2 separate regions of the Homo sapiens genome follow, and region 2 is linked to region 1. Evidence: promoter capture Hi-C in human tissues and cell types (Jung and others, 2019). All regions are on one chromosome and are shown on one strand. The core of a region is centred on a gene start or on the middle of the fragment in contact, and the rest is flanking DNA. Distances in the headings are between cores, read along the strand shown.

What was found. The method cuts DNA at HindIII sites, captures the fragments that hold promoters and counts their contacts. A contact is called where the count stands out against the background at its distance.
Region 2: a contact is called between a fragment that was not itself captured here and the fragment with the promoter of KIAA1549 in region 1, in 1 of the 25 tissues and cell types used here (spleen).

Annotation. Positions count from the first base shown.
Region 1 is chr7:138,978,131-138,983,340 of GRCh38, reverse strand. It overlaps KIAA1549, which reads left to right and starts at 1,952. Exons shown (of 20, transcript NM_001164665.2): 1 at 1,952-2,258. The coding sequence starts at 2,072. RefSeq lists enhancers at 1,175-1,524, 2,147-3,033 and silencers at 1,505-1,634, 1,655-2,034, 2,075-2,204, 3,044-3,338. The HindIII fragment of the contact is 8,726 bases long and covers 1-5,210 here.
Region 2 is chr7:139,295,028-139,300,237 of GRCh38, reverse strand. It overlaps UBN2 (ubinuclein 2), which reads right to left. Exons shown (of 18, transcript NM_173569.4): 18 at 1-2,451. The coding sequence ends at 2,402. Among named protein-coding and RNA genes, the nearest start is that of TRR-CCT4-1, 43 kb to the left of the region's middle. The HindIII fragment of the contact is 3,914 bases long and covers 1,113-5,026 here.

The DNA of each region.
Region 1 (5,210 bases), core at 703-3,202:
GAGACGGGGTTTGCCATGTTGGCCAGGCTGGTCTTGAACTCCTGACCTCAGGTGATCTGCCTGCCTTGGCCTCCCAAAGTGCTGGGATTATAGGCGTGAGCCACCGCGCATGGCCGAGGGAGGCTTTTTTCTCTGACACCAACGGGTCTAGTGTAGATGGCAGCTTGCAGGAGGCTGAGGCCAAATCTGAAGATGGAACCTCTTCACGGGCGGAATGCATGCTCTGGCTCAAACCAACGATTGTCTACTGAGGGCTTACTGGGGCTATGAGAAATCCTAAGCAGGATAGCACCATATTTGAATTTCATATTAATTTATTGGAGGTGGGGTGGGGGCTGTGTGTGCAAAGCATAAATTCATAAAAGATAAAACAACACAACAGGACAAGACCATTCAAGAGTTGCACGAAGGCAGTGGTTTGTGGTCAAATGTGCTGTTATAGAGAGTTCAGAGAATAAAGATAAGTGTGTGAATAAGAGGTCCCAGATCTATGGCCATGGTGTCCTGGGACCAGACATATCTGGGCAGTTTCTCTTAGGTACTTACCTGGGTGTGCACGCAGAACCCTCTTTGGGAGACAGGAGCAGTTACTGTAATAAACATAGGGGCTGTATGATGGGGGGTTACAATAACGTGTAAAAACACCAGGAACATCAACAAAAGCTTTTTTTAACCTTTATTCTCATTTTCCTTGAAACTACCAGGTTTCAAGTACCCACCTGTAAGGACCAGGTGTGTACCTACAGAAGAGTGCCCCTGTCCTATTCTTAGGAAGAACTATTCGCCAAGGGCAAGGAGTCCAGAAGAGTTGGAGCTGCAAGGCTGGGCAGCCCCTTCAAGGGCTGGGCCTGGCAGGGGAACCCGACTGAATAGCCGCGAGGATCCCTCTGCCAGTGTAATGATTCACCTTTTCCGCTGTCTGCCATAGTTTTTCTGCACGAGATAGTGTCCCCCACACACACCGTTAATATCTGCTTGATGCAACAATGCCAGTGGGATGCAACGATTCAAAACTTCCAATTCCTCCTCCCTAGACCCTGAAGCCACGGGGCGTCTTCAGAGTGACGTGCCTGGCACACAGTAGGTACTTGACAGATGTCAACTCCCTTCTTCCCGTTCCTCATTCCCCCCGCGGACTCCAACCCTCAAACGCTCTCTGGGCATTCTCTCCACCTCTCAGGAGCGCCACTTTCCCTAAAACGGCCTGGCCTTGCGGGTCTCCCCAGCTCCACGCCCATTCGCTTCAGCAGCCGCCTGCTCAAGGCCTGCTAAGTGCAGGGTCCCGCGGGCCTCCCAGGCCCTGAGCGCAGGGTCGCTTCCCGAAGACCCGCAGAGGTGGCCGCACCTTCTTAAGGCAGGAAGGCGGGGGAGAGCTGCGTGCGCTCTGCTCGCCCCTGCCTTGCACGCTGAGCTCTAGCGCAGGAGCCCGACTTTGTCTGGCTTTGTCCCCTCCGCGGCCCCGAGGCTGTCCTGAGAGCGCGGCGCCCCACACACCTGCTGCCCGCAAGGAGTCGGCGGGAGAGGAGGAGCGAGGGAGGCGAGAGGACCCCTCCCCCGGCTTGCCGGCCTACCCTGATCCGGGCGCCCCGGGGAACGCGCGGCGGGACCCGGGGTTGGGTGCGGGTCGGGGCGGCACCGCCCGGCCCAGGCCCCCCGAGCCCCTCGCGCTCCCTCCGGAAGGCGGGTCCTGGGGGAGGGCTGGGCCGCGCCGCCTCGCCGCCCTTGCCGCCTCTGCCGCGCCGAGCCCCGCGCACGCTGCCCCGGCCGCCCCGCAGGCAGGCAGGCAGGCAGGCAGGCAGGCGTCCGGCCGGCCGGGAGGGGGTGCTCGCCGTCCCGCGCCCGGGCCCGCGCGTTGCCGGGCAGCGGCTCCGAGGCTCCGAAGGGGGCGGAGCGGCAAGGCGGGCGTGCGGCTGGCGCCCCTGTCCTCGGTTCCGGCCCGGCCCGCCCCCGCCTCTCCGGCCTCCCTCCGCGCCGGTGCGCGGCGCCCCGTCCCAGCCGCAGCCGCAGCGGCCGCCCCTCCCGGACCCGAGAGCCGCTGAGCCGCGAGGCCGGGCCGGGGCGCCGGCCGGGAATGCCGGGGGCGCGGCGCCGACGCCGAGGCGCGGCCATGGAGGGGAAGCCCCGCGCCGGGGTCGCGCTGGCCCCGGGGCCGAGCGGCCGACGGCCTTCCGCCCGCTGCGCCCGCCGCCGCCGCCCGGGGCTGCTGCTTCCTGGCCTCTGGCTGCTGCTGCTGGCCCGGCCGGCCTCGTGCGCCCCAGGTAAGCTCCGCCGAGACCCTCGGAACGCGGCCGCGACCCCGCCTGCCTTTATCGCTGCTGTTTTCAAAACCCCGGCTTTCCCCGCCCATCCTCTTTTATTCTCCAGCTCCCTCGCCGTCCTTTCTGGAAGATGCTTTGCCATTCTTCTGGGGCCCAACAAATAAAGGCACGGGGGAAATAAATAATTAAAACGAACAAGCGAGCGGCTTCTGGCCGGTCTTGCTAAGGGGTCTGCAAAGCTGTTCTCTTGTCCATGGAACCCGAAGCGGGTCTGGTGGCTTCATCTCAGAATGTGCCTGGTTTTTCCTGCAGAATGCAGGCACCGGCGTGCTTTTTTGTCAAGGCTGTATGATGTGGCATATCGAATGTTTTGAGATACTTTATTGTCGGGGCGAAGAGGTGGATTCGAGGTGTGCTTTAAAAGAGTATTGCATTACCGGGACAAGCCCAGCGTCCCCCAGATGCGGGCAGGCCGGCCGTGTCCCCCCGTACAGCAGGACACAAAGAACATTCAAAGAAAACCTCTTGGAAAGCGCCCTGGCCACGGATCTTTCCAGGGAAATAGCTATTGGTATTACTTCTGCAAGGCATTATTAGTACAATGGAGTGTGAAAATATTTTGATTCTTAAGTGTCTGGGCATGAAAGGAGTAAGGGCTGTTTTTATAACAGATGCAATTTAGTGACTGTTCATCAGTATGGAATGAAGAGGCATGATTTATGAAGAAGCATAAGGGTTTTGTTGTGGAAGAAATGATTTAATTCCTATTGCTTCTCCAAAATGTTTATTTGTCCACCCTGAGCCTGTACACAGGATGGTCTGGAAACCGTCTCTGAGCTGACACTGCAGGCCAGCGATTGCCCCTGCACAGGCACTTGACCACTTTGAGGCGGAAAAGGAAAGGTGGAAGGAGCAGCTAGGGGTGGAGAGCTGCTGCACACAGAACAAAAACCAGAAAGCCGTGAACGCTGCTCCGAATCCTCCTTTCTCGTGGGAGCAGGGCCAAAGGGCTACTCAGTGGCTGGGAGGAATTGGAACACATTTGAAGGTGTCCCTTGGACCTGTGAGAATTATAACCAGTGCCCTAGAGGGGATGGTACAATAGAAGCACAGGGAGGACTTCAGGGATCATGGAACAGGTCCACTCTGCTTACCAAAGAGGAAACTAAGGCAGAGAAGTGCCTTGCTCAAGGTCACAGTCATCACTTTCCCTGCCTCCCACCCCCGCTCTTGGCCCATAGACATATCCACACCTGAAGCCTCTGCAGAGATTTCCCATAGCTGGGTGGAACCAGGGTTGGGGTGACAGAATGAGTCTCTTTTAGGCAGTATACAGCTAGTGCAAACACCTTACTCTAACCTAGGACCTCCCGTCTCAGTCCTGCTCCTGCGAGTTCCAGCCCTGTGTGTCCAGAGGAGAAGAGATCATTGTCAAGGGTCTCTTGGCTTTAGTCAACAAAGAGAGCCCATCTGATACTCGTGGATTCATCTGTCATAAGACACAGCAGATAAATGGTTTCCATCTCCTGAGTGCTTTTTGTGTGCCAGATGTTGAATTTTATATACACGATCCAATCACGTTGTGAGTTAGGCATAGTTATCCCCATTTTACAGATGAGGAAACTAAGGCTTTGAGTTTAGGTTGGTTTGGCTTCAGACTCTATGACATGCTTCCTTTCTGTGCCTGATGGCTTCCCCATATGAATGTGGCCATCTGGGTGTACTGCAGAGGTTGTGGAGAATATAAGTGCTTCTGGTAACTTTAAAATAAATAGTGAAGCTGTTTGCACTGCCCATCCCTAACCTTCTCTTCTTTGGAAGTCCTTTCCTGCTTCCCCTCTACCCCCAATACAAATATTCAACCTGGAGACATGAAATTAATAATATTTCCATTCTAGACCTGACATCATGGAAAGAGACTTCATCCTTTCACTGGTTTGTATATTGGCTTCAGCCGCTGCCAGGCTCATAGACTAGGAACTAAGAAGTGGAGGGCACAGCCCCTGTGCTCCAGGATCCAGCTGGAAACACAGAGCAGTGAAGGAAGTACAAACCCTTGCACAGACCATTCCCGGACAGGAAAGGCAGGATTCCTTATGGATGACCTGCTGGAGGTGACCCCATCTACTTGAAGACTGTGAGGAACGATCTTGGTGGAGGGTGGCTTCCTGATGTAGCTAGGGTGTGTGTAGGGTGCCTGGGCGGTGCTGTTGATCCTGGGAAGAGGGTGCGTTGCAGTTGCTTGGGCTGCCCTCCCAGTCCTGAGTGTGGTATTTTCACCAGGAGATTTGGAATGTAGGAGAGCTTTGCTGAACACTGCTGTGGTGGTTGGTTCTCTTTCTAAGGAATAAGCAGTGGTAGTCAGAAAATGGCATGGCTTAGACCTGTTTTGGACTTCCTATGTGAGGCAGCATTCCCTTCCGTGGCTGTCTGAAAGCTATCTCCTCCTTCAGCTGGCTTCTCTTGTTAACTTTTGTTCAATAGAGTCCACCTTCCAGGTGGTCCCCTTATTACAGTCTTTGGTTAAATCTCTATGTTAAATCGATTTCTTGTCTATTTGTATTTCATTCAGCATTTTGAGTGTGTTTTTTTAAAAAAAAAATTTACAAGTTTGGTCTTAACCATTGACTGTTGTGGAAACAACTTGTAATGCTTTGGACTTACTTTTGAATGCATTGCTCTTAAGTGATTAGCCATCCACAGTATAAAAACAAAGAATCATGCCCAGTTTCTTCACCTTATTCAGAGATAAGTTTTTAAAAAGTAATAGTTATTATGAAATAGATTGCTTTGTAGGGAATTTGGAAATTACTGAAAGGTACAGAAACCAGTCACCCATAATCTCACAGCCTGTAGGTAACACTAAGTAATTTTATCGTTTTTTTGTTGTTAACATTAAAAAAAGAATTATATGCACAATTGTATTTACTACCATTTCCACTCTACATTTAA
Region 2 (5,210 bases), core at 1,820-4,319, 320 kb before region 1:
GTCCTCAAGGAATCAAGACTAAAGAGAACACAGAAGAATCTCCACATTGTATTCTTGGAGCCAAGGGCCTTCAGATATTTTTACTGGTTAGTATAAAATGTTACAGGGAAAAGAACTGATTATCTTGTTCTTTTCTAATGATGACAGTCACCAGGGATCTTCATATGGCATGATTCAGAATTGATGGTTTTAAGAAATTCAAATGATTTTTTGACTCAAACTAGTCATTTATATGAATGTATGTGTGTATGTATATATACATACAGACAAACATATATACAAGTATTCAGGAAGAGAAATTAATACGCACTTCGACTTCTCTTGTGGTATGAGAAGTAAAACAAAGGCTACCTTCCCAAAGGAAAATCCCATCACTTCCCCTAGTATGAAGCAAAGACCTTTTTATTCATATTTCGTAAAAGCAAGAGGTCCACTACATTTGAAAAAATTAAAAAAATTGGGCAAGCTTCCTTAATTGAAACCAAGCAAATCTTCATCAAACATACTGAATTCAAGTCAAACCTCTCTGCAACATCCTCCCAGTATCCTTCCAAAATATCTACTGGGGTTCATACTACATCCATATTTGTTTTATTGATAAACTAAATTCTTAGAGTCAAGAAATTATATCAGTGATTCCTTTGAAATAATCCTTTCCCTTTACTGTAACAAGTTCTTGGAACTAAAGTTTTCAGTTATTTATTAACTTTTTCGCTATGAAGCAAGCCAATGTGACTTTGAAGTCAAAATATAGGCATACAGATCTGAACCGATCTGTGGTTATTTATTCACAGTCCTGTAGGGTATCTGGGACTTTTGTGTATAAAAGAAAAAAGGGCCTGGTTAATACTCTTAATTGAGTAAATCTAATGGTATAGGGTAATGTATAATAAACACATATGCAATAAATCTTGTCACTACCAGTCTATTTTTTTTAGGTTAGTGTCATTATAAATGGATGAAGCTTATACCATTTAGAGTTTACACCATTCTCTGATATAGTATGAAAATATTCAGAAGCTTAAAAAACTAGAATAATGCGGCAAAAAAACCCATCAAATCAAATGTATCCAAGGAGAACCATAAATTTTTCCCTTAACATCCTTTGTTGAATATGCTATTTGCATAAGGAAGCTATAATAACTAAGGAGTCTTATTTTCTGCAGATTTACTCACATACCAATACACTGAGTAAATAGTGAAGCTTTAGGATCTCAAATGCTCCAAACAATTTCACTACACTGGATACAGGGAGTAAAAATATGTCGTGATTGTGATCCTAATGTGATTCCTCCCTTTAAAATACCATCTTAAAAATTCAAAAACTATATTCATGCCATTTGAATGACCAATGAAGAAACATAGTGTACACTTCTACCTGTTTATACCAATAGCTAATAATCACCTGAAGGACCACTAGCTAAAAGAACAGAAGGAGAAGTTGTGAAGTTAGATGAACTGGGGAAACTTAGAGTTTATGTTGCTGCAAGGGCTAAAAGCAGCAAAGCAATAACCCTGTAAAGATCCCCATTTCTCAGGAGAAAAATGTGAACACAGTCACATTTTAACATCAAGAATGGAAATAAGAATTAACCAGTCAATACTAGATGCACAAATCACCTGAAGAAAAGAGTTAAGTACCTGCTTCTGAACGGAAGATGAAATTGACCCTTTTACAAAAAGGGGACATCTAGGTTTCATCTCTTAAGAGCAACAGGCTCAACTTCCTGATTTTTAAAAATCTAGATGATTTAATAATATATATCACTGTGCTAAAATAACTTTCCTGAAGGATCTTTAGTCCACTGATTGAGGGAAGTTGCTACACACTGGAGGAGATTCAAGTTTGTTCAGGATTTTCGAGGGTGTGCTATGCAGCTACTGTCTATCGGAGATAGAATCATTATTATTTCTTTTTGTGGCAAATCTGCTACACAGTCCATTCAAATAGACATGATCATTATTCCTGACAAACTGGCCTAATTCCAGTTTTTAATGCCTTTTATTACCAATTATGTCTGTAAGTGTTCAGATCCAACCCCCAGGATGGATGGAGTTTACCCAAATTCTCTTCACTTCCTTCTTCCTCCCCCGGGAAAAATCAAATTTGTATTTCTGTGGGTTTGACAACTGAGTCTCTTTCAAGTCTGTTAATACGGTAACTCTGTCATTCTTTAGAAGAGACCAAAGGTCACTAACTTTGCACAAAAGCATTTCTTCCTCCTGCACCTGGCTTTGCTCAAGTAATGTTTTCTTTTCTTTTTCCTCCTCACCACAGTGCTTGGGACGAGAGAATGTAAACATCGACAGAAACAGCAGCCCTATGACCACATAAGTACTTTCCCATCAGGTAGATTCCATCAGTCAACTAAACATTTCGTCTCCTTTGCTTGCTGGGCAGTCACTGAGATTTCCGTGGTAATTTAGTGTCCCCTTTACTTTGGCCTCCATCTGAGAAAAAGAGACGTTAAATTGGTATGGGTCCATATGTTACAAAAACCAGCTAACAAAAACAAAGCAAAAACAACAATTAACTTTTATCTTTTGTGGATGACATCTCTGAAAAGATATCACTTTTAATATCTTGCATGCCATATAGCATTATAGAGGTTGATAAAACATCATGGAGATAAAAACTCAACAACAATGATCCTCTTCTCTCAAATGACTGTGGTTTTCAGTGTTTTTTAAATATGATTTCAACAAGTATTTATCATTTACGTCCCAGCCAATTGTGTCAAATGCTGTGAGAGGGTTATAAAGGAACCAGAAGACACAATTCCTACCTCCGAGGGACCCACTACATCTTTCAACTCCTTTGGAAGACAGGTCAATTTCATTTTTTTTTTTTTGTAAGTGAAATAAAATTTCTTGCCAGGACACAGCATTTCATAATTCCTGATTATTTGTGTAAACAAACGTAGCAAACTTTTCATCTGTAGTGAAAAACATCCAGCTGAGTGTGTGCTCATTCTAACCTAGCTTTAAGTGACAGGAAAGTCTGCTACTGGGACAAGGCTCTTTCCTTTTTTTTTTTTTTTTTTGAGACGGAGTCTCGCTCTGTCGCCCAGGCTGGAGTGCAATGGCGCGATCTCAGCTCACTGCAACCTCTGCCTCCCAGGTTCAAGCAATTCTCCTGTCTCAGCCTCCCGAGTAGCTGGGATTACAGGCGCACACCACCATGCCCGGCTAATTTTTGTATTTTTAGTAGAGACAGGGTTTCACCATGTTGGTCAGGGTGGTCTCAAACTCCTGACCTCATGATCCACCCTGCCTCAACCTCCCAAAGTGCTGGGATTACAGGCATGAGCCACCACGCCTGGCTCTTTCTTTTTTTAAGAGAGAGTCTTGCTATGTTTTCCAGGCTGGAGTACACTGGCTATGCACAGGTGCGATCATAGCACACTATAGCCTCAAATTCCTGGGCTCAAGAGACCCTCCTGCCTTAGCCTTCTAAGTAGTGGGACTACAGGTGTGTGCCACCACACCAGCTCAAAATAATTTCTATTTTTACATACTGCTGTTTAAATGCTTGCAGAAAAAATGTTGATTACTTCATTTAAGCCTCAACTAAATTACCTACAAAAACTGGACAGGAGGAGAGGAAAGGGGGATACCAGGGCAAGGGTAAGGCCCAATGACTTGGAAAGCCAACAGAATATGGAGAAAGTCTCCAACAGGTCATGGCCTTAGCAAGAAAAATGAGGCCTCAAAGACAACCCATGCCTGACAGCAAAGGACAGGAGAAGGAAACCTTTTACTCTGAGGGAAGAGGCATGAATAGCAGAAATACACAGGTGAAAAGGAACAAATTTGACCAGGGTTTGGCAAACTACAGCCCATAGGCCAAATCTGATTCCCTGCCTGCTTTTGCACATGAAGTTTTATTTACAGTCATACTCATGTGTTTAAATACTCCTTATGGCTGTTTTTCACTACAATGGTCAGTTGAGTAGTGGTGACAGAGACCATATGACCTGCAAAGCCTAACATATTTACTATTTGGCCCTTTATAGAAAAATTTTACTGACCTTTGTTTTAGACTAAATAAAATTAATCAACATTAACTGAGCTCTTACTATGCACCAGGTGCCAAGCTAGAAGCTTTAAATCAATTATTTTTTATTAGATTCTCATATGAAGTCATTAAAAAACATTTGTTGTCTCCAGTTTACAAGCAAGAGAAAGTGATGGTCAAACAAGCCTACTCAAACTGGCAGTTCTGGAATTCAAAAATCCAAGTCTGATCCTCAAGTTCAGTGACTTACACTTTAAAATGTTTCTTAAAGGAAAAATTTTAAACTTTTTTTTTTGGGGGGGACAGACTCTCACTCTGTCACCCAGACTGGAGTGCGGTGGCACAATCAGAGCTCACTGCAGCCTCAACCTCCCAGGTGTAGGTGATCCTCCCACCTCAGCCTCCTGGGTAGCTGGGACTACAGGTGCACAGCACCATGTCCAGAAAATTTTCTGTATTTTTTGTAGAGATAGTGTTTCACCATGTTGACCAGGTTGGTCTCGAACTCCTGGACTCAAGCCATCCGCCTGCCTTGGCCTCCCAAAATGCTGGGATTACAGGCATGAGCTACCATGCCTGGTTGAAAAATTTTAAACTTTTTAACTTTAGTTATTTGGAAAATACTGACAGTCATATTTCCTTTCTCCCCTCGGAATAGCAGTGCTGCACAGATAAATTTGATAGTTCGTGTAAGAGCGAACACTGGGGTCTTTTTGAGCCACAAGAATCCTGCTTGTTTAATTCCTTGCAGGTGGCCACATTCATGCCAATCTGCCCATGAGTACACTACCCTCAGCTGGATTCATTATACCAAGCAGCTGTCTACACCCAGGGGGGGACATGCTTTAGTCACAGGGAAATTCTCTTTAGATATTTAAACTAGTCAGAGTTCAGGAAGATCGGGATTGCTGACATTTGTGCCACGACTCTGTGTTACCCATTTTACACAACTGTGGTTTTATACTCATTCTCAAGGTTAAGACTGAGACAGCTCACCACTTAGGTCTTTCAGAGGATTAATGGCAATCTGTTGCCTCAAGATTGCCCCTCAGTTCCCATCTCTGCACTGTGGTTAATGGTAAACTGGTTCAAAGGTCATTTTTAATGCAGTGGCCAAAAAAAAAAAAAAAAGTGAGGCCTAGTCAACTTCCAAAGTTAAGAGGGCAGCTAAGCAGTTATTTCTGCTCAAAAG